2 separate regions of the Homo sapiens genome follow, and region 1 is linked to region 2. Evidence: promoter capture Hi-C in 16 types of primary human blood cells and fetal thymus (Javierre and others, 2016). All regions are on one chromosome and are shown on one strand. Each heading gives the region's core, a stretch centred on a gene start or on the middle of the fragment in contact. The rest is flanking DNA. Distances are from core to core; before and after follow the strand shown.

What was found. The method cuts DNA at HindIII sites, captures the fragments that hold promoters and counts their contacts. A CHiCAGO score of 5 or more calls a contact.
Region 1: the fragment with the promoter of TSPEAR-AS1 here is called in contact with the fragment with the promoter of KRTAP10-7 in region 2 in 8 of 17 cell types (naive CD8 T cells, total CD4 T cells, non-activated CD4 T cells and 5 more); the score reaches 13.7 in naive CD8 T cells.

Annotation. Positions count from the first base shown.
Region 1 is chr21:44,502,403-44,508,308 of GRCh38, forward strand. TSPEAR-AS1 (TSPEAR antisense RNA 1) reads left to right here and starts at 3,642. Exons shown (of 7, transcript NR_103707.1): 1 at 3,642-3,926; 2 at 4,245-4,697; 3 at 5,635-5,906. It overlaps TSPEAR (thrombospondin type laminin G domain and EAR repeats), which reads right to left. Exons shown (of 12, transcript NM_144991.3): 11 at 2,378-2,479. RefSeq lists an enhancer at 760-1,279. The HindIII fragment of the contact is 6,455 bases long and covers 1-5,906 here.
Region 2 is chr21:44,596,815-44,603,548 of GRCh38, forward strand. It overlaps KRTAP10-7 (keratin associated protein 10-7), which reads left to right and starts at 3,783. Exons shown (of 1, transcript NM_198689.3): 1 at 3,783-5,360. The coding sequence starts at 3,808. The coding sequence ends at 4,920. All of the region lies in intron 1 of TSPEAR (thrombospondin type laminin G domain and EAR repeats), which reads right to left. RefSeq lists enhancers at 2,150-2,906, 3,667-4,416, 4,417-5,176, 5,275-6,131, 6,132-6,734. The HindIII fragment of the contact is 9,535 bases long and covers 585-6,734 here.

The DNA.
Region 1 (5,906 bases), core at 2,392-4,891, 95 kb before region 2:
TTTTAAGAAAAGCTATTAGAACTGATTGGTTAGGGGGCGAGAAAATGATTGTCATGATGAGCAGCTGCAAATGAAAGTTAAAAAGCCAACCCCATTCGTTAAACGTACGATACTTGGAAAACTCCTGGAAATAAATGAGAACACCACAGTGTCTATGAGAGAAAAATTAAATATCAACAACTCCCATGTTAGGATGTCCACACGCCGCATCCCTGACAGAATCCAAAGGCAGAAGCACCAGCACTCGTGGGTTGTGGCTACACCCGGGGCAGGGCCCCAGCTCAGATCCCACACGGGTGCAGCCAGCGCCGGGCCATCCACTGGGCCCAGCCAATCTCGGAAATGACACCTGACTTGGGACTCGCTGTGAGCCGGTGGCACCTGCGAGAGAAGGTGAGCCCCCGGGGGGAAGCAAGGCTCTGGGAGGAGGCCGGCCTCGGTGAGCCCTTGGGGGGAAGCAAGGCTCTGGGAGGAGGCCGGCCTCGGTGAGCCCTCGGGGAAGTAAGGCGCTGGGAGGAAGCTGGCCTCAGTGAGCCCTCGGGGAAGCAAGGCTCTGGGAGGAAGCTGGCCTCGGTGAGCCCACAGTGGGGAAGCAAGGTGCTGGGAGGAAGCCGGCCTCGGTGAGCCCTCGGGGGGAAGCAAGGCTCTGGGAGGAAGCTGGCCTCGGTGAGCCCTCAGGGGGAAGCAAGACTCTGGGAGGAGGCCGGCCTCGGTGAGTCCTCGGGGGGAAGCAAGGCTCTGGGAGGAGGCCGGCCTCGGTGAGCCCTTGGGTGGAAGCCGGCCTTGGTGAGCCCACAGGGGGGAAGCAAGGCGCTGGGAGGAGGCCGGCCTTGGTGAGCCCACGGGGGGAAGCAGTGTGCTGGGAGGAAGCTGGCCTCGGTGAGCCCTCGGGGGGAAGCAAGGCTCTGGGAGGAGGCCGGCCTTGGTGAGCCCTCGGGGGGAAGCAAGGCTCTGGGAGGAAGCCGGCCTCGGTGAGCCCTCGGCGGGAAGCAAGGCTCTGGGAGGAGGCCGGAGTTGGTGAGCCCTCGGGGGGAAGCAAGGCTCTGGGAGGAAGCCGGCCTCGGTGAGCCCTCGGGGGGAAGAAAGGCTCTGGGAGGAGGCCGGCCTTGGTGAGCCCTTGGGGGGAAGCCGGCCTTGGTGAGCCCACAGTGGGGAAGCAATGTGCTGGGAGGAAGCTGGCCTCGGTGAGCCCTCAGGGGGAAGCAAGGCGCTGGGAGGAGGCCGGCCTTGGTGAGCCCTTGGGGGGAAGCCGGCCTTGGTGAGCCCACAGCGGGGAAGCAAGGCTCTGGGAGGAAGCCGGCCTCGGTGAGCCCTCGGCGGGAAGCAAGGCTCTGGGAGGAGGCCGGAGTTGGTGAGCCCTCGGGGGGAAGCAAGGCTCTGGGAGGAAGCTGGCCTCGGTGAGCCCTCGGGGGGAAGCAAGGCGCTGGGAGGAGGCCGGCCTTGGTGAGCCCTTGGGGGGAAGCCGGCCTTGGTGAGCCCACAGGGGGGAAGCAATGTGCTGGGAGGAAGCTGGCCTCGGTGAGCCCTCGGCGGGAAGCAAGGCTCTGGGAGGAGGCCGGAGTTGGTGAGCCCTCGGCGGGGAAGCAAGGCTCTGGGAGGAAGCCGGCCTCGGTGAGCCCTCAGCAGGAAGCAAGGCTCTGGGAGGAAGTTGGCCTCGGTGAGCCCTTGGGGGGAAGCTGGCCTTGGTGAGCCCACAGTGGGGAAGCAAGGCTCTGGGAGGAAGCCGGCCTCAGTGAGCCCACAGTGGGGAAGCAAGTCTCTTGGAGGAGGCCGGCCTTGGTGAGCCCACAGTGGGGAAGCAAGACTCTGGGAGGAAGCCGGCCTCGGTGAGCCCTCGGGGGGTAGCTGGCCTCGGTGAGCCCTCAGGGGGAAGCAGGGCTCTGGGAGGAAGCCGGCCTCGGTGAGCCCTTAGGGGGAAGCAAGGCACTGGGAGGAAGCTGGCCTCGGTGAGCCCTCGGGGGAAGCAAGTCTCTTGGAGGAAGCTGGCCTCGGTGAGCCCTCGGGGGAAGCAAGGCTCTGGGAGGAAGCTGGCCTCAGTGAGCCCACAGTGGGGAAGCAAGGCTCTTGGAGGAGGCCGGCCTCGGTGAGCCCACAGTGGGGAAGCAAGGCTCTGGGAGGAGGCCGGCCTCGGTGAGCCCACAGTGGGGAAGCAAGTCTCTTGGAGGAGGCCGGCCTCGGTGAGCCCACAGTGGGGAAGCAAGTCTCTTGGAGGAGGCCGGCCTCGGTGAGCCCACAGTGGGGAAGCAAGTCTCTTGGAGGAGGCCGGCCTCGGTGAGCCCACAGTGGGGAAGCAAGTCTCTTGGAGGAGGCCGGCCTCGGTGAGCCCACAGTGGGGAAGCAAGGCTCTGGGAGGAGGCCGGCCTCGGCAGCTCATTACCTGTAAATAATACTGTTCACCGAGAAGGTACGCCCATCGAAGGAGTTGGCCACCACCAGGAAATAATCTTCTCCCACCGAGAAAAACTCCCAGTCCAGAGCACTGCAGGAACAAGTGGGTGGATATTAGGACACAACAGACATCGCCAGGGAACTGGGGGATTGGCCAGAAGCTACCTCCAAAATTTATAGAGGAGGAGCCGGGGCCAAAGTGGGGAGTGATTTTCTCACAGTCACATATGTGTTGGTCTATTCCAGGAAAATGTAAATTAGTTGTTTGCTTAAAAAAAATTTCAAATTTTATTTTATTTTATTTTTGAGATGGAGTCTCATTCTGTCACCCAGGCTGGAGTGCAGTGGCGAGATCTCGGCTCACGGCAACCTCTGCCTCTCGGATTCAAGCGATTCTCCTGCCTCAGCCTCCCGAGTAGCTGGGATTACAAGTGTGCGGCACCACGCCCGGCTAATTTTTGTATTTGTAGTACAGACAGGGTTTCACCATGTTGTCCAGGCTGGTCTTGAACTCCTGACCTCAAGTGATCTGCCCACCTCAGCCTCCCAAAGTGCTGGGATTACAGGCATGAGCCACCATGCCTGGCCTCAAATTTTAAATTATGGTAAAATACATATAACATAACATTTCCCACCTCAACCATCTTTAGGTGCACAGATCAGGGGCATTAAGCACATTCATACTGCTGTGTGGCCGCCCCCACCATCCACCTCCAGAACGCCTTCATCCTGCAAAACCGAAGCTCTGCACCCAGTAAACATCACCCCCTCCCCCCTCCCCCCCCCCCCCCCCCCAGCCCCGGCACCCACCACGCCACTTTCTGTCTCTATGAATTTGACCACTCTAGGGACCTCATATGAATGGAATCGCACGGTATTTGTCCTTTGTGTCTGCCTTAGCTGAGACTCCAGTGACTCAAGGTTCATCCGTGTCGCACTGTGTGTCAGAATCGCCTTCCTTTCTAAGGCCGAGTAACGCTCCGCTGTGTGAATGGACACGTTGTGTTTGTCCATCCGCTGACAGACACTTGGGGAATTTCCTCCATGTGGCTACTGTGAATGCTGCTGCTATGAACACCGGGGTACAAAAGTCCACTTTTAAGAGGTTGAAACAATCAGAGAAAAAGTCTCAGGCTGCTGGTGCCTGCTGGAGGCAGGAGCTTGGTTTCCCGCTCTGGACACTGTGCAGAAATGGCGTCACAGTGCTGTGGCCTCTGTGCCTGGTTTCTTCTCTCAGCATTGTGTCTTCAGCTGTGAGGTCAGCGGCCGTGAGGTCACTCCAGGAGGTGCCTACAGGACCTGCAGGACCTGCTCGTTCACAGATGTTCTCCTAGAAGCAGAAGCTGTTTCTTGTTGCAAACAAATTTGCTGTGTCCTGTCTTAGGAGTCTCACCTGAATTTACCAAGGATGCATCTGTGCTTGGGGATGGCTCGGTTTGAGGGGTCTGAGGAGCGGCTCCCCTGGATCCTTTCCTCCCCAGGAGCCCACCTGCCGAGCTGTCAGCGTCAGCCCCACATCTCAAGATGAGGAAATGGAGGTCGAAGCCATGCACACGCAGGCGTCCTGCTGACATGCAGGCCAGGCGGGTGCCTCTGTATTCAGCAGCCTCAGGGCTGTGGCCAGTTCAGGCAGCAGAGGGGCCTCATCCCGGTGCTTCCCTGCAGGCAGTTGTGGGGCCGGCCTGCAGCAGGGGCTCAGACAGGGCCTTGGGAGAGGGAGGGATCACAGAGGTGTCCAGTGACAGGCAGGGCGGGCAGAGCCCATGGGGCCTTGGGCTCCTCACTCCTTCGGTCAGTCAGGGTGACATCTGGAGCCACCTCCATTAATGGTGGGTTATGATTTGGTTCCCATGCAGCCCGTGCCAGCTCGCTGGGAGGAGGACGAGGACGCCTGTGATCACATGCTCTGGTCTGGAGGCACGGCCGCGGGCCCCGGGTCAGTGTGAATCCGCGGGGTTACTCCTCAGTCGGATCTGAGCTCTGAAACCCAGACCCGAGGAAGACAAGCGGCCACGTCGGATGTACCAGTGGTGGAAGATCCTGTCCGGCTGCACCGAGGCTCACATCAGAAGCCGGCTTCGGTTTCACCACAAAATAAGGCATCTAGTGCCCGATTCTGCCTCCAAAGCAGCCCTGGGTCACACTCGCTGTAGGACAGATGTTATTCTTCAGAATCACGCCCTCTGGCAAATGCCCATCATCGGACAAATGGACGGATGAAGTGTGACTCAGCCATGAGAAGGGGGATGCTCTGAGCCGCGCGGCCACACCACCAACCCGGAGGACACGGTGCTGCGAGAAAAAGCCAGGTACAGAGGCCACGGCTCTACGAGTCCATTTCTGTGCAGTGTCCAGAACGGGAAATCACAGAGACAGGAAGTGGGCCCGGGGGTGCCCAGTTGGGAGGGAGGGGCTGGAAAAGGGTGTGGGGGGCTCCTTGTGAGGGGATGAGAATGTTCCAGAGTTGTCTGCAGCCATGGCTGCACATATCTGTGGATTTAATAGAACTACTGAATCTAAAAAGCAAACACAAGCGACCATTTGAAGGCAGTCAGAGCCAAGGTTACACACAGAAGCCACAAAACCCCTCAGCGCCCTTGAATAGGGTTTTGGACTTGGTGAGGCCACATCACGTCTCCGGGAAGTGTAGGGAATTCCCCATGCTGGGTAGAAGGGCTAGGAGTTTGACTTGTGTGTGCTGTTTTGATGGTAATTATTAAACATTACCTTAATTAATTGGTAAGTACTTTCTGTGTTTCATAATTTAGTTCATAAACTGTCCATACCACTGTCCAGTGGTGACAGGGCCATAAGTCGCGAGTGTGTAGCTGTGTTCTGTCAGTTCCCGCAGCTTTCAAATCCCGAGGCGTCTGCCTCATCTGTTTCTAGACTGGGCATCATGTCCATGACTAATTTTTAATCACAATTCATTCTCCAACTTGTCTTATTCTAAATGTTGTTCTAAAAAGCCTAATGTTTGTTTTGTTCTCGGCGTTGACATTGGATGGCGTGGATTCGTGCTGGGGACACACAACTGCCACCGCCGCCCCGTGCCTGTTTCTCCTGCCATGGCTGCCAGGCCACGCAGGGGCCACGGAGCCCACAGGCAGGTCACCCCGGAATCCCCAGTGCCCCCAGCAGACACCGCCGCTGGCTCTTTTTCTTTATTATGAGTGTTCTTTTTTTAATTTTTAAAAATCATATAAGTAAGATATTAGTAAGTTAACATTGTCATCCTTTGTAAAGCCAGGAGTTCAGAAGTAACAGGGCAAATAGGGAAAGTCCTTCCTGGCCTGTCTACATACCCCTGCAGCCCTCCCGGTCCTAGGGTGACTGCTGACGGAGAGGGCACTCCCTTCCCGAGTCTTCTCTGCACGTCCGTGGGCACGCACAGCTGAGCGGCACACAGCAGCCCGGCTCGCTCCTCCGCACTGGGGACACAAGATTTCACTGCACCTCACCCAGCCCTTTCCACAGAGCAGTTCATCTTGGAGACTCTTCCCCTCGAAGGGTCTAAA
Region 2 (6,734 bases), core at 2,533-5,032:
GCTCACTTTCTGTTATGTTTCTGTTATTGATCTTAATAACTCGTGGGAGCTCTTTGGATATTAAGCAAATTAGCCCTTTCTCTGATATACAGATAGGAAATGTGTTTCCCATATTGTTGTCTTTTGACTTGGTTTATAATGTTTTCTCTCCTGCAATTTAAAAATTTTTACATAATTAGTTTTATCGGTTTTTTAAATGGCTTCGGTGTTTTACTCAAAACTTAGAATAGCCCTTTCCACTCTGAGATGATTTTTCTTTCCCTTCCTATCATTATTGACAGGTGTATTAACATCCCCCACTATGATTTTCCCTTTTCTCTATTTCTACTTTTAGCTCTGCCAGTTAAAAAAATTAAAAAACAGTTTTTTATTTTAATTTTTTAATTTTATATTTTAAGCTATGTAATTAGATACATGCAGATTTAGAATTGTTACATCTTCCTGGTAGGTTGACTCTTTTAGCTTTATACATTTCTTTCTTCATCTCTATTGCTCTAAAATCTACTTTTTCTGATATTCATAAGTCACACTAGCATTTTAGTTAGTGTTTGTGTGGTGTATTTTCTTCCATCTTGTTACTTTCAAGCTTTCTGTGCTCTTTTTCTTTTTCTTTCTTTCTTTTCTTTTTTTTTTTTTTGATGGAGTCTCACTCTTGTCGCCCAGGCTGGAGGGCAGTGGTGCGATCTCGGCTCACTGCAACTTCCACCTCCTGGGTTCAAGCGATTCTCCTGCCTCAGCCTCCCAAGTAGCTGAGATTACAGGTGCCCACCACCATGCCCGGCTAATTTTGTATTTTTAGTAGAGACAGGGCTTTACCACGTTGGCCAGGCTGGTCTCAAACTCCTGACCTCAGGTGATCTGCCTGCCCCAGCCTCCCACAGTGCTGGGATTACAGGTGCGAGCCACAGCACATGGCCTCTATGCTCTTGTATTCAGGCTCTGTATCTTGTAAGCAGCATGTAGTTAGGTTTTCTACTTTTTATTCAGACCAACAATATATTTTAATTGGAATATCTGATACTTTATTGACTGATGATTTAGTTTATATCTATCTGCCATCTGACTGTACAATTTCTATTTGTCCCAATTTTTTAACGTTTCTTTTAAAAATCACTTCCTGTCTATTTTGGATTAATCAAGTATTTTTTATTATTTATTTTCCCTCTTCTGTTCTATTCATTATTCGTGAGATAAGGCAAGGCTTCTCTTCAAACAGGCTGCTCAACCTTTTGTTCTTTAATTCCTAGTACCCCCGCCCCCTCTCTTTCTTCTCCTTTTCTTCTTTCTGACTTTACTACATGCCCAGGCATGCCGCAACATCACTAGCATTATCAGCACCAGCTCGCATTCCGTTCTGTATTTAGGAAAAGACTGGCTCTCTAGTTTCCCGTAGATGACCCCTTCCTCCTCTCCCGTCTCTCCCATTATGCATCCATTTTATCTAAGAAAGTTTAAATGTTTAGCCAATCGGGTCTAGTTTAAATTGTGCGGCGCAATCCCAGCCAATGGGGAAAGGACACAGGGGCAGGATCACGTTAGGAATAAAAACTTCTACTCTCCTTTGTTCTGTGTGCTCTCGTGGCAACCAGCCATATGGGAGACACCCTCCTGCACAGACATACATTTGCTTTGCTGAGAAATCCTTTGTCTCAGTGCTCGTTTTTCCTTACGACTCTGAGCCTTATTTCTAACATTATTGATTATACATTGATTATACATAGTTTTTACTATCTCTTCCGTGGTCACTTTAGAGATTATAGCACACATTCTTAGATTATTCAAGTGTAACATATGTCAGCACTTCCGCCGCTTCCAAAACAATGCTGAAACCTTAGAAAACTTTCACTCCATTTATCCTTCTCACCTTTTATTGTTAATGTCATCATGCATTACTTTTCTACTTCTAGTTTAGACCCCACAAGAGATTATAAATATAATAATATTACCCTTTCAGATCCTCCTGGTTCCTTCCTGCATTTTTATCCTTCCGTCATCCTGCCTAAAAAAATCCCCTTTCATAGTTACTGTAGAGTAGGTCTGCTCGTGTTCAGTTTGCTCAGTTGTTATCCAGAATTGTTTTGTTTCATATTTCACCTTTGAACAATGTTCTTCCTGGTCTAGAATTCTAGGTTTGCAGTGATTTTCTTTCAGCTCTTTAAAGATGTCATTCTATTACCTTTAGTTTCTTCAACAGCTCTTTTAGGAGAGCTTTAAAGGAATCATTTTTAAAACATTTTGTTCAGCTTTTCAAGTTGTTCTCAGCAGGAGTATATGTCTGACATAGCTACTTTGTCCCATATGGAAGCAGAGGCCCCCATTTTCTCTCTCTCTCTCTCTCTCTCTCTCTCTCTCTCTCTCCTTCCATCCCATAGGACCAGATCCTGTACCTCTGGAGGGACCAGGCCATGCTCAAATTTATATTATTTTTATAGTTCAAAATATACAGAAAGACAATTCATCCCACCGTGTAACTGAATTTCTAGCCCTCTGAGGCCTTTTGTACTTTTCCTAAATCCCCTAGGAGTTAAGAGGCCTGGACTGGGAAACACAGATAGAGACACAGGACACCCTGAGCCTCTGAGACTTGCCTGGGCATCAAACCCCACCAGAAGGGCCCCTGGAGCCCTCTCCCCTGGGTAGGGGCCACTTCTCAGGGCCGCATGCATGCTGGGCTATGGCTGGTCATCACTGACATCACCAGGCACCAAGCAGCCCACCTCCCTCCCTGGTGGGGTCCACAGTCAGGGTTACTACCCCTTCACTTTCACATTCTCAGCACCTGGTGCAATTTCCAGCATGTGGGAGGACTCACTGCATCATGAATAAATGAATGCTTGAGAAGTAAAAGTATCGGATACAATTGGAAACATTTAGCAGAAACAACCAAAAAGATGTGGTGGCCAATTGGATATTATTTGCAGAAGAAATGGAGACTTAGATCAGATGTCTAGCTGGGGTGACCAAGGACTTAGCTGGCAATCAAGAAAACACACTGCAAGCGAAAGCAGTGCTTGCTGCTTTTCACACGGCAGTGCTGTTGAGAGTGGCTGTGCTTTTTGCGGAGGAGGTGTTCTGGGTTAGACTTACAGGTTTGCAGTGCTTGGGATAAAACCAAATGGAAATGGGGGCCCCAAACAGGGATCTGGGGCCTCCCTAAGTGCCCAGATGGAAGAGGGGGTGCACGGCCCCCCAGGAACTACTGTGAACCTGACGGGAAATGGCTCACACCACTGTCCACCCTTTCCCGTTTGCCACTTGCTCTAAAGCCCTTGGGGGGACTTTATGCACCAGAGAGAGTGTGGGGAGTCACTTCTAGGAATGTTCCACCCTCATGCCATCATTGACAGGGGCTTCTCTAGCCTGGCATTCCAGAAGCCACAGCCACCCAGACAAGCAGAGTCCCCTGGCGATGGCCCACAGGCGCTGGGATTAGGATGGATGGATCTCTCCTGCAGCCAGCACAGGCCCCTGGGACACTCTATTTGCAGACATTACACCCTGTCTACTTCAATATTATGCTCTGGAGCCAAAGGTAGGTGAGGGTGCGTCAACGGAACCAAATATAGACTCAGGACTTTACAAACTGAACGGCATCTCATAGGACTAAACATGAAACTCGCACTAATAAGCGTTCTCTAGGTTTTAAACACAAACAAGGAAGGGGCAGGAGTTGTTGACACTCCAGCTGGGACAACAGACCAGGGAGACATATAAAAGCCAACATCCCTGAGCACCTAACACACGGACTCACTCACTCATTCACTCACTCACCCACTCACTCCCATCTCCTCCAGTTCAATCCCCAGCATGGCTGCGTCCACTATGTCTGTCTGCTCCAGCGACCTGAGCTACGGCAGCCGCGTCTGCCTTCCTGGTTCCTGTGACTCTTGCTCCGACTCCTGGCAGGTGGACGACTGCCCAGAGAGCTGCTGCGAGCCCCCCTGCTGCGCCCCGGCCCCCTGCCTGAGCCTGGTCTGCACCCCAGTGAGCTATGTGTCCAGCCCCTGCTGCCGAGTGACCTGTGAGCCCAGCCCCTGCCAATCAGGCTGCACCAGCTCCTGCACGCCCTCGTGCTGCCAGCAGTCTAGCTGCCAGCTGGCTTGCTGTGCCTCCTCCCCCTGCCAGCAGGCCTGCTGCGTGCCCGTCTGCTGCAAGACTGTCTGCTGCAAGCCTGTGTACTGTGTGCCTGTCTGCAGTGGGGATTCTTCATGCTGCCAGCAGTCTAGCTGCCAGTCAGCTTGCTGCACCTCCTCCCCCTGCCAGCAGGCCTGCTGTGTGCCCATCTGCTGCAAGCCTGTCTGCTCTGGGATTTCCTCTTCGTGCTGCCAGCAGTCTAGCTGTGTGAGCTGTGTGTCCAGTCCCTGCTGCCAGGCGGTCTGTGAGCCCAGCCCCTGCCAATCAGGCTGCATCAGCTCCTGCACGCCCTCGTGCTGCCAGCAGTCTAGCTGCAAGCCGGCTTGCTGCACCTCCTCCCCTTGCCAGCAGGCCTGCTGTGTGCCTGTCTGCTGCAAGCCCGTCTGCTGTGTGCCCACCTGCTCTGATGATTCCGGTTCATGCTGCCAGCCAGCTTGCTGCACCTCCTCCCAAAGCCAGCAGGGCTGCTGCGTGCCCGTCTGCTGTAAGCCTGTGTGCTGTGTGCCCGTCTGCTCTGGGGCTTCCACTTCATGCTGCCAGCAGTCTAGCTGCCAGCCGGCTTGCTGCACCACCTCCTGCTGCAGACCCTCCTCCTCCGTGTCCCTCCTCTGCCGCCCCGTGTGCAGGCCCGCCTGCTGCGTGCCCGTCCCCTCCTGCTGCGCCCCCACCTCCTCCTGCCAGGCCAGCTGCTGCCGCCCAGCCTCCTGTGTGTCTCTCCTTTGCCGCCCCGCATGCTCCCGCCCGGCCTGCTGTGGCCCCACCTCAACCCAGAAGTCCAGCTGCTGAGTGATCTCCTTAAGATCATCCAAAGCCTGAGTGCTCACTGCCACCTGCACCCCTGGATTCTTTACCCTTGACGGCTCTCCACATCCCGCTCCTAAGCCCTGCAGTGGACGTCAGTGGTCAGCTGGCCATCCAGTGTGCGCTTCTCCTCCTAGAAGCAGCTCAGCTGTTTCTCCAAGTCTTGACTTTCCCCCAATTACCCAGCCCTGCTTCCCCAGCAACAGGTGGGCAGTGACCCCAGCAAGGCCAGCGGGTGCTCCCAGGCCATAGCCCGGTGTGGGGAGAAATGAGGGTAGACAGGTACCAACTGGGTTTCTCGTCACTGTCCCAGCTCAGTGGCGAGCCCTGCTCCTCCCCTGCTGTGGGCCTGGGCCTCTTTCTCTGTCTTCCCTGACCACGGGAGCAGGTCAGACCCTTCTAATAAACTCCTTTCCTAAAAAGTACAACTGGAATTCATTCTTGTTGTTCACAACCAAAGACCCCTGCCTGATGCCCCCCACCCGCGGGTGGTCCTGGGCTGCTCCCACGCCACGAGGTCCCTGTCCTTCCCAGGCGTCCTGGCAGCCCTGCACCAGCCTCACCACACGGATGTCCGAGGGGTAGGCAGGACTGAGGGATGGGAGAGGTGAGGGATCCAACAGCAGCGCCTGCCCTGGGTGGGGCTGCTTTGGGGCCTCCCCAGAAACTGGGTTGTGTCCAGCCCCTGGCTCCAGAAAGGAAACCCCATGGCCGTGTGCAGAATGGGTCCACACGGTGGGCGGGGACGGCCATCCTGAGGCCCGCTGGCCGGGCTGGCCCTTGGCTGGCGTCTGGGAACTGGGATTTCCGAGGGGCTCCCCCCGGCCCCGCCTCACTGGGCCTGAGCTGTTTGTACCATGTGGTTTAGGCCGAACACCCACATCCCTGCTGGGAGTCTGGAATTCTGGCGTAGCCCAGGCAGAAGCTGCTCACGTGACCAGTCCCCGGGTACATCACCGGGCAGGGCATCCCCAACATCGCACACGCAGCGTCCCAGCTGCTTGCAGAGGAGTGAGGCGCGTCCTGCGTGACCCCCACCCCAGGAGAGGCCTCCAAAGCTGAGCCTGGTGCCCCTGGACTCGGCCCCAGGAACCTTTCCCTTGGTTGATTTTGCTCAGTGTCCTCCCTGTGGGAAATCACAGCTGTGAATACCACAACCTGTGTGGCCTGTGTCCTCCTGGAGAATCGCCGTCTTGGGGACCCTGACACAGACCCCAAGCTGCCCTTCCCAAGCAATGACAATGCTGTCCTAGGACAGTGCTGGGTGCATTTCTGGTAGTGCTTCCTTTGACTCCTGCTCCAGAGGGGGTGGAGACAGAGAAGGAGGCTGGGTGAGGCCAGGCCATCGTAGGTTTCATGAGGAGCAGAGCCGACCTGCGCCTGCAACGAGCTGTCCCTCCCCTGTGGTGGCCACAGAGGCTGTGGCCTGAAACTCTGGCGTGGGGCTGGAGCACCAGCTGGCAAGGAATAAGCCCCCACATGTCCCACCTGGCACTCCTCTGCCCCTACCCCGGCCCCTGTGCAGAAGAAATGAGCCAGGCTTCTCTCTGGCACCAGGGCTACACCCTAAGTCAGCATCCCAGGCTTTGCGTCACTGGCTCCCCTCTGGTTCTCCAGGAGGCACCAAGGGGACCCTGTGGTGAGTCCCCCAACTACAGGCACCTGAATCCCACAGACGGCAAGATGGAGGGGCCTTGCTCAGAGAAGCACGTCCTCCTCTGCGGATCCCAGACTCGGCTCCTCCCCTAGGCATGGCCCCAGCAAGCATCCAGGCATGTGAGCCTCTGGGGAAACACGCC